Linked DNA regions of Homo sapiens: region 2 is linked to region 1. Evidence: promoter capture Hi-C in human tissues and cell types (Jung and others, 2019). All regions are on one chromosome and are shown on one strand. Each heading gives the region's core, a stretch centred on a gene start or on the middle of the fragment in contact. The rest is flanking DNA. Distances are from core to core; before and after follow the strand shown. Region 1 holds the start of NR2F6 (nuclear receptor subfamily 2 group F member 6). Region 2 overlaps ABHD8 (abhydrolase domain containing 8).

What was found. The method cuts DNA at HindIII sites, captures the fragments that hold promoters and counts their contacts. A contact is called where the count stands out against the background at its distance.
Region 2: a contact is called between a fragment that was not itself captured here and the fragment with the promoter of NR2F6 in region 1, in 4 of the 25 tissues and cell types used here (dorsolateral prefrontal cortex, lymphoblastoid cells, spleen and 1 more).

Annotation. Positions count from the first base shown.
Region 1 is chr19:17,241,901-17,248,360 of GRCh38, forward strand. NR2F6 (nuclear receptor subfamily 2 group F member 6) reads right to left here and starts at 4,019. Exons shown (of 4, transcript NM_005234.4): 1 at 3,043-4,019. The coding sequence starts at 3,320. RefSeq lists silencers at 3,370-3,439, 3,450-3,609, 4,010-4,259, 4,660-4,739 and enhancers at 4,003-4,952, 5,902-6,460. The HindIII fragment of the contact is 6,638 bases long and covers 3,885-6,460 here.
Region 2 is chr19:17,296,323-17,302,773 of GRCh38, forward strand. ABHD8 (abhydrolase domain containing 8) reads right to left here. Exons shown (of 5, transcript NM_024527.5): 2 at 4,534-5,302. The coding sequence starts at 5,294. It also overlaps a transcript of MRPL34 not described here. Among named protein-coding and RNA genes, the nearest start is that of ABHD8, 3.9 kb to the right of the region's middle. RefSeq lists enhancers at 4,639-5,139, 5,140-5,640 and a silencer at 5,998-6,292. The HindIII fragment of the contact is 7,858 bases long and covers 538-6,451 here.

The DNA of each region.
Region 1 (6,460 bases), core at 2,769-5,268:
AGCTACTTGGCAGGCTGAGGAAGGAGAATCGCTTGAACTGGGGAGGTGGAGGTTGCAGTGAGCCAAGATTGACCCACTGCATTCCAGCCAGGGTGACAGAGTGAGACTCTGTCTCAAAAAAAAAGAAAAAAAAAAAGGCTGGGTGCAGTGGCTCATGCCTGTAATCCCAGCACTTTGGGAGGCCGAGGCGGGCGGATCACCTGAGGTTGGGAGTTTGAGACCAGCCTGAACAACATAGAGAAAACCTGTCTCTACTAAAAATACAAAATTAGCCGGGCATGGTGGCGCATGCCTGTAATCCCAGCTATTTGGGAGGCTGAGGCAGGAGAACCGCTTGAACCCGGGAGGCAGAGGTTGCAGTGAGTTGAGATCACGCCATCGCACTCCAGCCTGGGCAACAAGAGTGAAACTCCGTCTCAAAAACAAAACAAAACAAAACAAAACAGATGAATCTCAGCTGCAGATACCCAGCCCTGCCCCTCAGGTGGCGACTGCCCCACTGAGCCTCGGTTTCCTCATCTGAAAATGGGAGGTCAGATATTGCCCTATCATATGGGATGGACTGGGTCAGAGGGGTTCACGGGGGACAGTGCCAAGACCCAGAGCCCAGCCGGAGAACCCAACTTAGGAAAGCTGAGGATCTGCGCCCACTCCCCCGTACCCCCCCTCCACCACTGCCTGGGTCCTGCAGCACCAGCCACTGAGCCCCTGGGAAGAGGCCCCACTAGGGCAGAGGGAGCTCAGGCAGAACCAGAACAAAGCCCAGCGGCTGGGTGGTGGGAGGGTCCAGGGCAGCCGGGTGGAAACGGCCTGGCCTGGGGCGGCCCTGCAGGCAGGCAGAGGCCCAGCTCAGGGGCCCCTGACCTCAGGGGAGGCCCTGAACCTTCAGTCTCAACTTCCCCAGCTGTGGAATTGGGACAGATCCATCCCTCCAAGGAGGGAAACAGTTAAGTTCTTCCTGTTATCCCACCTAAAGAGTGCAAGCTTTTTTGCCCAACCCCATGGCCCAACTCAGCTTCCTCCCTGGGCTTCTGGCCTCCAGTCCAATTTGATCAGAGCCCTCTCCTGCTCACACACCCTCTATGGCTCCCCATTACCCTCAGCCAGCATTTCAGGCCCACCTAGCTCTGACTTCTCCCATGGCTGCACAGTCCCCCTCTTACAGCACAGCTCCCCCAGTCTGCCACTAAGTGTTTTGTCTGGACCACATTCTGGCATGTCCCTGTGGCCTTTCTTCCACCTGCCAACTCCATGCTTCAAGGCTCATGTCCCCTAGCCTCCTCCAGGCAGCCCTCTCTGACCTCCAGGCAGAGCCTCTGCTCTCTCCCTGGGACCCCAGATCCCACAGACTTGGGGCATCTGTCTCACTGTGTCTCCTCCAGACTGGGGGCTTCTCAGGAGCTAGACTTGGAGCTGGGGTCTCTCTGGAGGGGCTGGCATCAAACTACCCAGGCTGGGCCCCAGCGAGACCCTGCTCAATCCATTTGAAGCTCAGAATGGAATGGTGATTTCACCAGGTCACACAACTGACACAGCACAAACCTGTCAGCTCCAAGCAAGGCCCCCCCCACCCAAAATTGCTGCTCCCTGACACCACCCTCAGGAAGCTCCTGGGACCCCAAAACTGCCTGAGCCCCCCTCCCTTACCCTCCCTAAAGATATGACCAGAGAGCAGGCGGTTTTCCAGCAGCAAGAATGAGGCCAAAGTCTAGTGGCCCACTTTGTGCTGGAGGAGGGAGCAAGGCAGCTCTGCCACACATGGCCACACCAGGCCAGCCCTGACCCGGGACCTGGGGCCAAACTCCACCCTCGGGTACCTGGGGCCCTATTTGGTGGCCTCAGCCAACAAGCCTTCCATCAGCCGTTCTCCCTGGGGCCACTCCGATCCGAACTCAGCGGTCCCCACCCTAGCCCCACAGTTCCCCCACAGTGCCCCCAACTCGGGCAGCGTCCCTCCATGTCCAACGCAAAGCAGGCACCAGGACCTCTCTCTGGGCCTTTGGGCCTCTGTTTTGGGCAGCTGGGAACTGAGACCGTCTAGACGGGCTCCACAGAGACCCTGCATGTTCCTGGGGTGCAGAGTAGGGGCTTATAAACGGACAGATCGGATGCTCGCCCGGGAACGGTGAGAAAAGAACTCCCGGGCTGGACAACCCCGATCGCTTTCCCTGGGGACCTTCCGCCAGAACAGCTAGCAAGGCCACGCCCTGCCAGAGAGGTCTCCGACCTGGGACAGCCCAAGGCTCCTGCTCGGAAACGTTTCACTCCCTGCCCGTCTCAGAGACACCCAAAGTTTGAGGGATTTTTCCAGGAGCCCCAGGTCTGCACCCACCCCTGGGGGAGAGGGACGTTTCAGTCAATTCCGGTGGCCCTGCCGGCCTTCCAGTGGCGATTTCCGGTGACCCAAGGCCCAGAGTGAGCCCAGAGGGGTTCCCTGAGATGGGCAAGCCCAGCTCCCACCCCCACCCCCACCGCTGGGCCCCTCATGCGAAGAAGGCCGCCCCGTGCCACCCCAGCCTCCCTCCGTCTGCCGCCTCCGTAGCCACAGCGACTTTGGAAGTGATATTTGACCCCAAGGGCGCGCCGTATCGATCCGCGCGGCCGCAGACAATGGCCCCTGGACGCTGCGAGCTCCACGGTCCAAGTTCCACGTTCGATTCCCTCGAGGGCATCCCGCGCGCCGGGATCCCCGAGAACGGGTGCCCTGGGGTTGGGTTACCACCCCTGACAGCACCCCTACCCCCACCCCAGCGCGGAGATGACCCCTCCCCAGAGAAAAAGCGGAGGGAAGGAGAAGCAAGTAACTGGGGCAAAAGCCTCCAGGGACCACCTGATGGGGGGGGAACCTGCAACGATGTAGCGCCGACTGTATACACAATCCCAGCCATGGAATGCGGGAGGAGGGTGCTGTGCCCCTATCTCAGAGGGGGCAGTGGAGGCCCAGGGAAGGTCAGCGCCAGGCCCAAGGTGACCGAGCAGGTCAGAGGCCTGCCCCAGGTCGGGGCGGGGTGCACGGCGGCGGCGCGCGGATGGGGGGCTCACCGGCAGGTGTAGCTGAGGTTGCGGCGGATGCTTCGCTTGAAAAAGCTCTTGCAGCCCTCGCAGGTGAAGACACCGTAATGCTTGCCGCTCGACTTGTCCCCGCACACCACGCAGTCCACCTGCAGCCCCGGCCGCTCCTCGTCGCCCGGCTCGGCGTCGCTGGCGGCACCGGGGGGCGAGGCCGAGTCGTCCTCGGCCGCGCGCGGGTAGCCGCCCGCCTTGTCCACGCCGTTCGTGTCGCCGCCGGGGCCGCCCCAGCCGCCGGTCACCATGGCCATAGCCCCAGGGCAGCGGGGCCGGGGCGCCCCCACCGCGCTCTTCCCTCCGGGCACCCCTCTCGGCCCGGGGGACCCTACGCGGCGCGCATTCGGCCCCGGCGCGCGGGGGGCACGGGCTGCACCCCCCAAAAAAGTTTTGCAGCAACTTCCTGCGGCCGGTCCTCGCGCCCGGGCGGAACTGGTCGGGCCGGTTCCAGGCCAACTTTCCCACGCGTGCGCGGGGCCGGGCCCGGGGCCGGGAGGGGCACGCTAGAGGCGCGGGCCGGGGGCCCAGAGGACTCGCGTCCCGCCGCCCTGGGGCCCCGGCGGGGGCGCGCGGGCCATGGCCCGGCCCGAGCCGCGCAGGGGGCGTCCTCTGGCCTGGCCGCCGCTCGCCCGGGGGCTGCGGCCAACTCAGCGGGCCGCCATCCGAGCGCGGGAGGCCGGGGGGAAAGTTTGGCCGCAAGTTGCGCGGCCGCCCGTGGCGGGGGGGGAGGGGCGGCGGGTGCGCGCCGGGGCTGATCGCCGCGCCCCCTGGGTCCCCCGGCGCCCGCGGCTGCCGCTCCGGGCCTGCAGGGCCGCTGGGCCGGCGCCTCTGGAGCTGCCGCCCCCGCTGCGGCCGCTCCTGCCTGGCCTGGGCCTGCGCCTGGGCCCAAGCCTCGCTCTCGCCGCCGCCACCGCCACCGACCCCGCGCGCCGGCCTCGCGCTGCGGCCGGTTTGACACACAGCGTTCCATTCGCGGGGCGGGCGGGGGGCGGGGGCGGGGGCAGGGGCGCGCGCCGCGGGCTGGGGGCGGGCGCTCGTTGCCCCGGCGACGGCCGCCCTTATAAGGGCATGGGTGGCCGCGCGCGGCGCCGGGCGAACGGGCCGGCGGGAGGGACGGGGGCCGAGCGCTGGGCCGCGGGGCCTGACCCTCCCCCGCCTCCCTCTGCCCCTCCCCCCGCACCCCCGCCCTCGCCCTCGCCCAGCTCGGGCCTTAACCCCTGCCGGGCCGCGGCGGGAGCCTCAGCCGCGCCTGCCCTCTGCCCTTCCTTGAGCCTCGCCAAGATGTCTCTCCAAGGCCCTCCCCTCCACCTCTGGCCTTGGACGTTGGGTCGCTCGATCACCCTCGAGGCGCCCCTCGGAACCTCTCCCCACCCCACAGTTCCTGGCAAAGCAATGATGGGGGGCCAGTGGCACCCGGGGGGGGGGTACGCCCCTGCGCAAGACACACGCGCGCGCGAGACAGACAGACACACACACACACACACACACACACACACACACACACACCCTAGATTGTGTTTGCTTCCTCTTCCAGAAAGTCGCCGCGTCTGACCCCCACCCCACCCTTTCTCTGCTCGGGTTAACACCTGGTGCCCGGAATCTCCAGGGGGAAGGGATGTTGTGGTCTGAGACCGGCTGGCCGGGGCCGCGAGGTCAGGGGGCCCCTCTGCAGAATTTCTGGCCTCCGGGGGCAGGGCGCCCACCCGCCCCGCGCGGCTGGAGGCGACAGGCATGCCCTGTCTGGGGGCCTGCCCCTTTTTCCCTTTTAATTTCCTTTTCTTTCTGTGCTTTGCAGAAAGGGCTTGGCCTGGCGGCCGGCTGGACTGCAGATGTCTCTTCCAGGCGCCCTGGAGCCTCGCAGCTGCCGCCACCTCCAACTCACCCCATCCCCCAGTACCGGGGCTGGGGCCCGCCCGACCAGCATTTATTAAGCACCCTTTGTATGCGAGGCCCGGGCTGGCGAGCCTCTGGCTCTGGGCAGGTTAACCTTTAACCGGCTGGACAAGCCCTTCCAGGAGTGACCTTTCACCTCGGAGTCTTGCAGCCCCAGCCACCCAGACTGTGGTCCCACCCCGCCCTGAGCCCAGAGCTGGACACCAGAGCATGCAGCTGGGCCTCTGAGAGCTCTGGCCAGGACAGTGCCTTCTGCGCACCCCCTCCTCTGCCTCCCAGAGCCCTGATGAGACTTGAAGAATTGCCCTCCCTGGAGTAGGGGGAAAGATTCTTAGAGATCTTACAACACTTAAAAAGAAACTGAGGTTCTGGGAGAGCCAGGCACACCCAGCCCTGGGCCTCTCAACCTGCTCCAGGGACGTTCTGGCTGCCTGGGAGGTGGAGGAGGAGGCGTTAGTAAACACGAAAAGCAGGAAGGACTAGGATTAGACATGAGCAAGGACTTCCCGAGGTCTAGAGTCGGGTTCTGCCCACAGCCTGATGTAATCCCTGCTGGGAGAGAGGAAGGCGTGGGTGGGCAGAGACGACCCTTTGGTTCTGAGGCTGCATGGGAATGTGACTGGTAATTTGGGATGAGGGCAGGGATCCTAGGCCCCTTGCCTGGACCTGCTAGGATCTTTGGTGGGGAGCATTGGGGTGGAGGTCTCAGAAGGGATTGAAAAGAGATTTAGATGAGAGACAGGCGCTGTGGCTCACGCCTGTAATCCCAACACTTTGGGAGGCCAAGTCAGGAGGATCTCTTGAGACCAGGAGTTCAAGACCAGCCGGGGCAATAAAGTGAGACCCGTCTTGAGCCCAGGTGTTCAAGGCTGCAGTGGGTTATAATCACGTCACGTCACTCCACTCCAGCGTGAGCAAGACCCTGTCTCAAAAAAAAAAAAAAAAAGAAGAGGGAGAGAAGACTCAAGGAATCTTGAGGGGATTGTGAAGGGGAGGGAGCAAAGAACTAGGTTTGGGGGAGACAAGTCTTGCGAGGCAGCTGAGAGCTGGGTGGGAGATGGGGGAAGAAAGACCATCGCAGATCCCAGAAACTCCAGTAGTTCCAGTCCCAAAGGCTGCCCCACCCCCTTCCAGTAGCCTGGCCACCCCTGTGCCCCCTGGGGCCCGCCTGGGGGTGGATCAAGGCTCTACCCCGCCTCCCTGACCCCTGCCCGCGGCCCTGCAGTAACATTTGACCTTGCGGCGGCCGCAAACCAGGGACAAAGGGGCCTAGGCCCATCTGCTGAGGGGGCACCCGTGGGAATGGCCAGATCCTGCTGGGGCAGCCTGGGAACCTGTCTCCGTCCTCCCACATGTGACCTTGGCTCCCTTTGCCCCTCCACAGGCAACCTGGTGGGACCAGGAACTCAGGTCTTAGACTCTGGGGCTCGGCAGGGTACAGGGAAGAAATTCAGCTTCTCTGCCCCACCCCAACACGAGCAAGGTGGTCTGCCTCCATTTC
Region 2 (6,451 bases), core at 3,217-5,716, 55 kb after region 1:
AGATTATAGATATGAGCCACTGTGCCCGGCCCTCATCAGATTCTTCAAGCCACCATGACCCAAAAGCGGTAAGAATTACTCATCAGCAAGTGGTAGGAAAGCAATCTGATTAAACAAATGCTTCCGGCTGCCCAGGGGAGGTCACTGTTTCCTACTATCCCTTCCCTTTCAGGATGTTCTGCCACCTGCCTCTGGGCATGACATATCTGTCTTCCTTATACAAGATGGAAGGCCTGAGAAGCCCCCAAAGCTGAGCTCCTCATTCCTACAAAAGCAGGGGTCAACAAACTATGTACGGCCTGTGGGCTAGTCATTTGCTTTTTTAAATACAGTTTACACTTTTGGAGATTTGAAAAATGTTTCCTAAATAAGGTTTTTTTTTTTTTTTTTGAGATGGAGTCCTGCTCTGTTGCCCACGCTGGAGCACAGTGGCGCGATCTCGGCTCACTGCAACCTCCGCCTCCCGGGTTCAAGTGATTCTCCTGTCTCAGCCTCCCGAGTAGCTGGGATTACAGGCATCTGCCATTATGCCCGGCTAATTTTTGTATTTTTAGTAGAGACGGGGTTTCACCGTGTTAGTCAGGCTGGTCTTGAACTCCCGACCTCAGGTGATCTGCCCACCTTGGCCTCCCAAAGTGCTGGGATTAGAGGCGTGAGCCACCGTGCCTGGCCAAAAAATGTTTCCTAAATAAAGTTTTATCAGAAGTTCCAACAGTGACTGTATGGCCTGCAAACCTAAAATATTCGCTATCCGATCCTTTAAGGAAATGTTTGCCAGCCCCTGCTGTAATGAGGAAAGGATACAGACAGGAGTCAGGCAGACCTGATTGTGTCAGGGACTTCCTGTATGCCTTTGGGCAGGTTGCTTCACCTCTCTGAGCTTCAGCCTCCACATTCCTGAAGTTGTAAATGTGCTGACCTAATAGCACTGTTATGGGGTCATGGGAACTATTGTAGGTGGGTGTTTTTTTTGTTTTTTTGTTTTTTTCTCGAGACAGAGTCTTGCTCTGTCACTCAGGCTGGAGTGCAATGGTGCGATCTCGGCTCACTGCAACCCCCACCTCATGGGTTCGAATGATTATCCTGCCTCAGCCTCCCAAGTAGCTGGGATTATAGGCACCTGCAACCATACCCAGCTACTTTTTGTATTTTTATTAGAGACGGGGTTTCACCATTTTGGCCAGGCTGGTCTTGAACTCCTGACCTTGTGATCCGCCTGCCTCGGCCTCCAAAAGTTCTGGGATTACAGGTGTGAACCACTGTGCCCAGCAGGTGGGTGCTCATTTAATTAGAGGAATCATTTCTCATAAGCATCAACTTTTGAGTATGTTATATAAAGAAATATAAACAAATAAGAGCTGTTACCTCTCAGTCTAGATTCCTTTCTTTTAGATACTTATGTAACTTCTTTGTTTTCTTTTCTTTTTTTTTTTTTTTTACTTTTTAGTTTTTTGTAGAGATGAGATCTTGCTTATGTTGCCCAGGTTGGTCTTGAACTCCTCAGCTATAGCAGTCCTCCCACCTCAGCTTCCCAAAGTGTTGGGATTATAGGTGTAAGCCACCACACCTGGCCACTTATTTATTTTTCTTTTTTCTTTTTTTTTTTTTTTGAGATGGAGTCTCACTCTGTCACCCAGGCTGGAGTGCAGTGGCACAATCTCGGCTCACTGCAAGCTCCACCTCCTGGGTGCACGCCATTCTCCTGCCTCAGCCTCCTGAGTAGCTGGGACTACAGGCGCCTGCCACCATGCCTGGCTAATTTTTTTTTGTATTTTTTAGTAGAGACGGGGTTTCACCGTGTTAGCCAGGATGGTCTTGATCTCCTGACCTCCTGATCCGCCCGCCTCGGCCTCCCAAATTGCTGGGATTACAGGTGTGAGCCACCACGCCTGGCCTTTTTTTCTTGTCTAATTGCATAGGCTAGAATCTCTAAAACAGTGGTGCTCAACTTGCCTGGCTGTTCAATCTTGCCTTTCTTCCTGGATAAAGGAGAGAATGAGGCCACTTGGTAGTGGTCAAGCCCTGGGGACCAAGCCTTCCATGGAGGGGTTCTTGGTAAGTTTTAGGTTGTATTACCTGCCCTTTAAGCAGGAGTGAATTACAGTAACCCATGCCTTTGTAAATGCCTAGAATTTACAGGATTCCGATGAGCGCTTCCTGAATGCACAGTGTTCTCCAGGGCAGTTGATTTTTTAACTTAGTCTAAGGCAGTGGTTCTCAGCTGGGGGTAATTCTGCCCACCAGGGCACGCTTGGCAACTACTGAAGACATTTTTGACTGTCATGATCAACACTAGATTGTGTAGTTGCATCCAGTGGGCAGAAGCCAGGGATGCTACTAAACATCCTATAGCCCCTCACAGAAAAAAAATAACCTGGCCAAACACGATAGTGCTGGGATTGAACAACACTGCTTTTTTTTTTTTTTTTTTTTTTTTGGGCAGAGTCTCACTCTGTTGCTCAGGCTGGAGTGCAGTGGTGTGATCTTGGCTCACTGCAACCTCTGCCTCCCAGGTTCAAGTGATTCTCCTGCCTCACACCCCCGAGTAGCTGGGATTACAGGCACACACCATCATGCCTGGTTAATTTTTTGTACTTTTAGTAGAGATGGGGTTTCACCATGTTGGCCAAACTGGTGTTGAACTCCTGACCTCAAGTGATCTGCCTGCTTTGGCTTCCTAAAGTGCTAGGATTACAGGCGTAAGCCACTGCACCTGGCCTGAGCAACACTGCTTTAGAACAATGTGAAACAATATCAGTGATGACGGAAATCCCTGTCTGATTACATATGCTAATGGGAGTTTTCAGCCTGGTATAGCGGCTCATGCCTGTTACCCCACCACATCGGGAGGCCAAGGAGGGAGGATGGCTTGAGCCCAGGAGTTCAAGACCAGCCTGGGCAACATAATGAGACCCCCCCCCCATTCTCTATATAATTTTTTTTTGAACTTGAAAATTGGCCTGGTGCGTTGGCTCACGCCTGTAATCCCAGCGCTTTGGGAGGCCGAGGAGGGCGAATCACGAGGTCAGGAGATCGAGACCATCCTGGCTAACACGGTGAAACCCCGTCTGTACTAAAAAGACAAAAAATTAGCCAGGCATGGTAGCGGGTGCCTGTAGTCCCAGCTACTAGGGAGGCTGAGGCAGGAGAATGGCATGAACCTGGGAGGTGGAGCTTGCAGTGAGCCAGGATCACGCCACTGCACTCCAGCCTGGGGGACAGAGTGAGACTCCATCTCAAAAAAAAAAAAAAAAAAAAAAATTAAGGCTGAGCACAATGACTCACACCTGTAGTCCTAGCACTTTGGGAGGCTGAGGTGCAAGGATCACTTGAGCCCAGTAGTTAAAGAACATCTTGGGCAACATAGTGAGATGCCATCTCTATTTAAAAGAAAAAAAAATTTTAAAAATGTAAAAATTAAATTGAAAAATGGGATTTTTTTCAAGGAGAAAAATTAGGATTTTTGTTTGCTTTGTTTTGTTTTAGGAGATAAGGTTTTGCCATGTTGTCCAAACTCATCTCCAATGATCCATCCACAAAGTGCTGGGATTACAAATGTGCACCACCGCGCGTGGTGGCCCCTTTTTTTTTTTTCATGACGGAGTCTCCTTCTGTCGCCCAGGCTGGAGTGCAGTGGCACAATATGATCTTGGCTCACTGCAAGCTCCGTCTCCCGTGCTCATGCCATTCTCCTGCCTCAGCCTCCCGAGTAGCTGGGACTATAGGTGCCCACCACCACACCCAGCTAATTTTTTGTATTTTTAGTAGAGACAGGGTTTCACCGTGTTAGCCAGGATGGTCTCAATCTTCTGACCTCGTGATCCGCCCGCCTCAGCCTCCCAAAGTGCTGGGATTACAGGCGTGAGCCACCGCGCCCGGATTTTTTTTTCTTTTTTAAAGAGCGACAGGTTCTTGCCATGCTGCCCAGGCTGGAGTGCAGTGGTGTGATCACAGTTCACTGCAGCCTCGACCTCCCAGACTCAAGCAATCTCCTGCCTCAGCCCTTAAGTAGGTGGAACTATATGCGTGCACCTCCTCACCTAGCTAATGTTTGTACTTTTTGTAGAGCTAGGGGGTTCTCCCTATGTTGCCCAGGCTGGTCTCAAACTCCTTGCCTCAAGATATCCTCCCGCCTTGGCCCCCGAAAGCACTGGGATTACAGGTGTCAGTGGCATCTCAGAGTCTCCCTCTGTCGCCCAGGCTGGAGTGCAGTGACACAATCTCGGCTCACTGCAACCTCCACCTCCTCGGTTCAAGTGATTCCTCTGCCTCAGCCTCCCGAGTAGCTGGGACTACAGGCGCGTGCCACCACGTCTGGCTAATTTTTGTATTTTTGGTAGAGACGGGGTTTCACCACCTTGGCCAGACTGTTCCCGAACTCCCAACCTCAGGTGATCCGCCTGCCTCGGCCTCCCAAAGTGCTGGGATTACAGGCGTGAGCCACGGGGCTCAGCCAAAAACTCAGTATTTTGTGACTGTAGTCCCTGCTGACCCCATCCCTCACCCCCACCCCACATGCCAGGGTTCACTTACCCGTAGGAATGGCCAATGAGCACATTTCGCTTCTTGGCATAGCGCTTGAAGATTGCTCGCATGTCCTCAGCCAGCGCATAGAAGGTGTAGGCTGCGGCCACCTGGGGCGCAGAGCTGGCCCCGTGGCCGGCCAGGTCAGGAGCCACCACCTCATAGCCTAGGCGCACAAAGAAGTCCAGCTGCTCCTTCCAGATGGCCAGGGAACCGCCGACACCATGGATGAAAAAGAGCACCACGTCGGCCTGGGCGCCTTTGCAGCTAGTGATGCGCTTCTCACAGTCAATATGGATGGTCCTCTTGGGGCGCCTGGCTCGCCGCCGCCGCCCACCACTGCCACTGCCGCTGCCGCTGCCTGCGCTGCCGGGGGCCAAGCGGCCATCGCTGCCCGCCGGATCTGCCAGCTCCACCTCCAGGGCGGCCGGCGGCTCCCCAGAGCCATTCTGCCCGTGTAGGAGGTCGGCTCGAGGGGCTCGGCCCAGGTTTTCCACCAGCAACCGCCCATTGCGGTACACGGTGATCCGGCGCTGACAGCGGACCAAGCCGGAGAGGTCCCCCTGGGCTGCATCCGAGGATGCGGATGATGGTGGAGGTGGGGCAGCGGCTGGGGCGGGTCCTGCATGCTTCACCCGCAGCACGCGGCCGGGCTTGACCTCTACAAAGGTGTAGCCATCGCTGGACTCGACGCTCTCCAGTGGCCCCACGGCGTTGGGGGGCGTGCCCAGCAGGCAACAGAAGATACCGTCGGTCACCCCGGTCAGCATGGTGTGTCCTGTGAGTGAGGACAGCAGCCAGTTCAGGTGCTGTCTCAATGAGAACCCTGCACCGTGCAGCAGGCACTCCCTGAGCCTTGGGAGAACTGTTTTAGACTCCAGTTTGGGGAGCGCCAGATCAAGTGAGCCACGGCACTGAGATTTTTTTGTTTGTGTGTGTGTGTGTGTGTGTGTGTGTGTGTGTTTTTGAGACAGTCTCGCTTTGTCATCCAGGCTGGAGGGCAGTGGCCGGATTTCGGCTTACTGCAACCTCCCCCTCCTGGGTTCAAGCGATTCTCTTGCCTCAGCCTCCTGAGTAGCTGGGATTATAGGCAGGTGCCACCATGTCTAGCTAATTTTTGTATTTTTTGTAGAGATGGGGTTTCACCATGTTGGCCAGGCTGGTCTTGAACTCCTGACCTCAAATTTTCCTCCTGCTTCGGCCTCCCAAAGTGCTGGGATTATAGGTGTGAGCCACCGTGCACTGACATGTTTTGTCTGAGCAGTGCCTTTGTGGTAGTTACCCTCCTGGGTCACCCTAGTCTATCCTCAGAGAGAAAGACTTGGCTATGGCTTACCCCACAGGGTGTCCACAGGGAAGGTGGTGGCGTCTTGTGTGGGGATGTTCCTGGAGAAGGGGACATTGTGGCAAATGTGGACCAGCCGGAAGACACCCCCTCCCCCCAGCTGGAGTTTATACCATTTATGGCCTCCTAACTCATTCATTCAGGTATACACTAACTCATCCATTCAGGTATACACTAACTCATTCATTCAGGTATACACTAACTCACTAACTCATCCAGGTATGCACTCACTAACTCACATATCCCCAGGGCCTCCTAAGGCATCTAAAATATGCAAATCTTTGGTGAGCCCCCAGTGAGGCTCCTGGCTCTGAATTTGACTCCTGAAAGGTGAGGCCCTAGGAGAGGGGGATGGGGACTGAGCCACAGAAAGCCTTGCTCAGCTCCCCTAGACCGGGGTGAGCCGGGGTCTGTTTCATAGAGGGCCAAGCTGAGGCCCAGACACTCTGAGAGGAAGCTAGACTCTGAACTTCCTCCTTGGCACCCTGGATTCTGGGGATCTGCTATACAAGTCCCCAGAGGTGGCGAAGAGGATGGGAGAGGCAGGGCCCTGGCTGGGGGCCTCCAAGCCTCCATCCCACT